2 separate regions of the Homo sapiens genome follow, and region 2 is linked to region 1. The links are contacts of gene promoters, found by promoter capture Hi-C in blood cells and fetal thymus (Javierre and others, 2016). All regions are on one chromosome and are shown on one strand. The core of a region is centred on a gene start or on the middle of the fragment in contact, and the rest is flanking DNA. Distances in the headings are between cores, read along the strand shown.

Region 1 (2,889 bases), core at 215-2,714:
ACTCTCATTTCTTAGAGCCCAGGCCAAGTCTTGGCTTCACAATCCAAATAAAGCAGAAACAGGCCCTTCTTTGGGGCCTGGTCACTGGCAGTCACACATTCCTTTTTTGGGGGGAGTTTCTGGTCTGAACTTGCCCATTCGGTTCATTTTGGAGTTGAATCACATCTTTTTTGGATGTTGTATTTTTCAGCCTGTGACTCTAGGCCTTGGGAAGAGTGGAGATGACTGAATCTTAGTTGAGGGACAGAAATTCTCTCCCTCCCACAGTTCACGGCCCCCGAGATCCTCACTCTTCCTGGAGACTGTGCCTGTCTCAGCCACCTTGATGGTTGTGGTCCACAGAAGAGCGAACATCACATCCATCTGCAGCCTAAGGCCTACGATGGCCAAAGAGAATGCTAAAGCCTGTATATCTGGTCGCTGAAGGATACGTAGACTTGTTGTTTGGCCTGTCCTTATTTATAACCCCCTGCCCATATGCCTGTCTGTACCTGGACACTGTACACTGACCCAGGAAGCGAGCCTGGGCCAAAGCCACAGGGAGTCATGAGACTGAATTTCTCCAGGATGTGGATGGGCCCGCCTCACCTCTGTCACCTTTGCGTTTCTGGGCCTAGCACAGGTCTGGCACCCACCAGGCTCTTGGTGTTTGGCGAATTAATGAGGGTGGTCAGGAGAGATTAAAAACATCTTTGATGAGTTCATGTCCTTTGTAGGGACATGGATGAAGCTGGAAACCATCATTCTGAGCAAACTATCGCAAGGACAGAAAACCAAACACCACATGTTCTCACTCATAGGTGGGAATTGAACAATGAGAACACTTAGACACAGGGCGGGGAACATCACACACCGGGGCATGTCGGGGGGCAGGGGGCATGGGGGAGGGATAGCATTAGGAGAAATACCTAATGTAAATGACGAGTTAATGGGTGCAGCACACCAATATGGCACATGTATACACATGTAACAAACCTGCACGTTGTGCACATGTACCGTAGAACTTAAAGTATAATTAGAAAATATATATAAAGAGAGAAACATCTTTGATCCCAGATGAAACACTGAAGCAGAGATTTCTAGGCTTCAGCTTAAGAGCCGCAGGGAAGGTGGGACTTGAAGGGTGGCTAGTTTCAGGCCTTTTCCACAGCTGGAGGAGACTCTTCCCTGATTTGCACTTGCCAGCTGGTCTCTGGGCCAGCTGTGCCAGCTTCACCTAGAGGTCTTGTTGGAAATAGCTCCGGTGTCTATTTTTCACAAACAGCCCAGTGATAACCAGGGCGCTGGGTTTGGGAACAAGAGTGCTAACCAGAGACCCCAAGAGTCTCTTGGAGAGGGACTGAGCTGCCTCCTGCCTGGGGAAATTAAGCTCCAGTCACTTCCTGGAGCATGTCAAACTCCACCTCCAGCAGGCCATCCAGCCTGAGTTCTCTGCAGAGCAGGCAGCTCCACCCTCCCAACTCAGTGCTGCCTGTCACACCTGAGCCAGCAGTTTGTGCAACCAGAGGAGCGCAGGCAGGGTTCCCTGCTGGGGCCCGGGCTGCCCAGCCATGCTTTGGGCACTCTGGCCAAGGTGGCTGGCAGACAAGATGCTGCCCCTCCTGGGGGCAGTGCTGCTTCAGAAGAGAGAGAAGAGGGGCCCTCTGTGGAGGCACTGGCGGGTAACGTACCTGAGATTACCTGGGAAACCCGGACTGGGGGAGTCCTGGGAGCTGCAGTGCCCTGTGAAGACTGAGACCAGCCCCAGCCCTGGGTTTTGAGTTGGGGTGGGACCTGTTTATTCTAGATGACCTGGCAGAGCTTAAATTAGACCTTGGCTCTTAAAAATAGCTCCCTCCGATTAGGAAATGGAGGGTTAGTTCACTTGACACTTGTCTGGGGTGGGTTGGCTTTCACCAAGGATGCGCGAGCCTGGCTGTAGAGTCCACGGAGCTGGTGGGGTTGTGAGGGGAGAGTTTCCCTCCCAGTAGGCAGCATGCTGATGTTATCTCTCCTAAGCCCAGCTGCAATCTGCTCGGTGACTCGTCAGACCGGTACCGGCCGGCCGGTGACTCTCGGCTTCCGCTCACCTGCTCGCTGCCTCCTAGACGGTCTTTGAGCCTCTGTCAGGGAGCAAGCAAGGGAGGGGGTGTCACAGTTTTCTCTTTTAATATTTAATCTTCTCAAGCACAACATTAGCACAGCTCTCACAGCTGCTCCCAAGCTAGAGTGGGGGCGCGAGCGTCTGAGGGGAGCTGCAGGTGTGTGGTGCGTGACAGCCATCGTTAGTTCAGTGAGTCCGTGCTGGATTTAGATTTGAACCCAGACCGGATGGGTTCCAGGGTCCAGACACATCACGAAGGTGCTGAACTCCCAATGCCTGGGACCCGCCAAGGTCTCCCTGCTCCCCGGCACAGAGACGTCAGTGACCCTATGCCAGGTTGCTGCTCCATGATGGGACGAGGGGAACAATGGGGCGAGGGACCAGGCTCACACTAGCTGACTGAGTCCCTGGAGTTCTGTTATTGCAGCGGGAAACCTACCCATACTATGACCTCCAGGTGAAGGTGCTGAGGGCCACAAACATCCGGGGCACAGACCTGCGTGAGTGACCCCATCTCCATCCTTCTCTCTGTCCTTTCCCTGCGGCTTCCTCAGAGCTCAGCTCAGGCTGGCTAACAGAGAGTGTGTGTGTGTAAGAGTATACATGGGTGAGTACAAGTGAGAGTGCATGTGTGTATACATGTGTGAGTATACGTGTAGGCATCTGTGCAAGTATGTGTGAGTGCAAGTGTGAGTACATGTGTATACGTGTGTGTGAGTGCGTGTATATGTGGTGTAAACATGTGAGTGCGAGTGTGTGGGAACACGAGTGTGTATATACATGCGTGCAAGTGTGAGCGAGTGTGT
Region 2 (2,889 bases), core at 291-2,790, 210 kb before region 1:
GGGACTGCAGGTGTGAGCCACCACGCCCAGCCCACATTCTTAATAGAGCATTGTTTCAAGCTGTAATATTTAAGAATACAGAGAAAATGAAGTATAGTCAATACTCATTATTCTTGGTAGTTATGTTTTATAATAACGCTGAGAACACTGTATTAGTAAATACTGAACCATTGCTCCTAGGGGAACTACAGAGTTAGAGTCCTATGAGTCTCTGGTCACATTTTCATCAACCAATCAATACAGAGCCTTATTTTATGATGTTTCTGCTTAAAGACACCTTATTTAATATTGATTCATTAAATTATTGTTTATTGATTGATGATTCAATAACATTGAACTCACAGCCAACTGACTATAACTTGTGTGTGAACAAAGCTTATCTGACACACGTATTTCCTCCATGAGGCACACCACAGCCTCCTAGAATGCTAGACAGCATTTCAGCACTATGCTTGGAGGTCACCAATAAAAAGCACAGAAATGAGAAAAACATGGCACTAAAGACGTCATGAAAAGGACATTCTTTACAGTATCAAAGCTGAAACAAGAAGGCTGAGTGTTGCCTTGTTTGACCTGAGCTGGGAACAGGCATGTGGGGTGACTCAGATTTTTCACAGCTCTGTGTATGCCCACAAATGACTGCAAAAACACCTCAAGTACTAATTTTGAGGAGACAAACCTTAGCGAGTAGGTGAATTTGCAAATATGGCATCTGCAAATAACAAGGATTGGCTGTGTAAGGTTTATAGCACTGACGTCCTCCATGTTGGAAAAGCCATGCCTATGGCATAAAGTTGGAACACTTTTGTGACTGATCTGAATTAACTAAAAGAGGGATGACATGATTCAAAAACAGGATATGCCTGTAGTCCCAGCTACTCAGAGTCTGAGGCAGGAGGATCACTTAAACCCAGGAGTTCAAGTCCAGTGTGGACAACATAGTGAGACTCCTATCTCTGTTTAAAAAAAAGAGAGAAAAAAATAGGGAGGGTTACCATACAGGGAAAATCAGCTGACTCTATTTCACTGTCTTTTGGGTCACAGCCAGAGAAAATATATTACATTTGCACCTGGAAACATTCTAGTTAGAAATAAGGATGAGTGTTCAGACTGTGAAAGTTACAAGCTGTAGGTTACTCAAGGAGATGGAGCCATCCTTTTCTCTTTAAAACCTTTATATCAGGAAAGAAAGCCATCCATCTGGAAAGGCTGAAAGTAGTTCCCATTTTTGGTCCTATATCTCTGGGGTATTTTAAAAATAGCAGCTTTTATACTATATTTCTGGTGTTCTGGAGTATATAATACACTTCTGAAAGTTCTGATGGTGATTGTTTAAACTTGAAGATTGAATGAAAATGGAAAAGTACGTGTCAGCTCCTCTTCAGCAGAATGCCACCCAGTGTTAGCTGAGGCACCAGGCTTCCTTGTGAATTGTCTTGAACACCACTCCATAGCCTCTGAGAGGGCAGAGCCTCCTCACTCCCACCACAGTTCAGCCGGTTCCTAGCAGCTCCTTTCTGTGTGCTTCTCTCTCCCCACACTCCTGTGCTTTCCACACTCTGAGTGTTGGCTCACCCCTGCTTGTGTAAACCAAAATAGGAACCTCCACCCTCTACCAAGTCACTTGCCTCAGAAGTTTCACAAGCACTCGGAAAGAATTCTGTGAGGGAGGCCGGGTGCAGAGCCTCATGCCTATAATCCCAGCACTTTGGGAGGCTGAGGCGGTGGATCACTGGGGTCAGGAGTTTGAGACCAGCCTAGTCAATATGGTGAAACCCCATCTCTACTAAAAATACAAAAATTAGCCAGGCATGGTGGCGCATGCCTGTAGTCCCAGCAACTAGAGAGGCCAAGGTGGGAGGATTGGTTGAACCTGGGAGGTGGAGGTTGCAGTGAGCTGAGCTGGAGACACTGCACTCCAGCCTGGGCAACAGAGCGAGACCCTGTCTCAAAAAAAAAAAGAAAAAAAAAAAGAAAAAAAAGAATTCTGTGAGGGTCGGGTCGTGGAGAGGAAGAACACCAGGTTAGGGGTCGTCACAAGCCCTGTTGCTTCCTCCACTCCATTTTCCTTTCAGTTCTAGCTCTCCTCCCTCTTGTAAGTAAACGGGCAGGTGTTTTTCTTTCTTTTCTTCCTCGAAAACAATCATACTTAATTCTCCTTCCCCCACCCCAGAGATTATTGTAATTCTGTAATTATAATAATCTTTCTGATTTTTTCTTACAGGTTTTCCTCGAGAAGAGAGAAGATGTTTCTGCCATGTTAAGGGTTCAGAAAGTGAGCACATTTGGCGAAATAAATTTAAAGACTTGACAATAATTCCACAGTAGTAAGAAGATCTACCCTGAAGAATGTCATACTTTTTTTTCTCCTGGTGTAACAGCCCTGGCACAAGGAAGAAGTTGGTTCTGCCTGGATGATGAGGACCTTGGGAAGGGGCAAGAGACCAGGTCATACAGAAAGCAGCAAAAACCAGCCGGTGTGGCTGGGTCCATGTCGATAGACAGCACGGAAGAAAGAAAGAGCCTGGGAAAAGGAATAGGTTGGGGATGGCAGGGTTGTGAGTTAGATGGGAAGGGACTCTTTGTCTTATTTTTCCATTCTGAATGCTTTTCTCCCTCACGTTTTACATTTCACAATTTCCCTCACATTTCTGAATTTCTCTCACATCTCTGAAACTGTGATGCAACTTACATTAGAAAGCTTCCTTCTACTGCACTCAGCTGGGTGATGGTCATGACCTTCCATGGACACCCTCTGATAAGATCAAGAAAGTACTAGTATTGAGAATCTTCTAGACTTGGGAAAATAAGGTTCATGATGAATTATAGCTTGGGAAACTTATCTAAACTCTATTCTTAAAATAAGCCTAATTCAAGAGATTTCTGTGT

The links. Contacts are between HindIII fragments. The CHiCAGO score rates a contact against its expected background, and 5 or more counts as called.
Region 2: a fragment that was not itself captured here is called in contact with the fragment with the promoter of PLA2G4F in region 1 in 1 of 17 cell types (endothelial precursors); the score reaches 6.3 in endothelial precursors.

The regions. Positions count from the first base shown.
Region 1 is chr15:42,155,211-42,158,099 of GRCh38, reverse strand. PLA2G4F (phospholipase A2 group IVF) reads left to right here and starts at 1,464. Exons shown (of 20, transcript NM_213600.4): 1 at 1,464-1,661; 2 at 2,511-2,583. The coding sequence starts at 1,551. RefSeq lists an enhancer at 1,024-1,739. The HindIII fragment of the contact is 5,494 bases long and covers 1-2,889 here.
Region 2 is chr15:42,365,913-42,368,801 of GRCh38, reverse strand. All of the region lies in intron 1 of CAPN3 (calpain 3), which reads right to left. Among named protein-coding and RNA genes, the nearest start is that of CAPN3, 7.9 kb to the right of the region's middle. The HindIII fragment of the contact is 2,326 bases long and covers 378-2,703 here.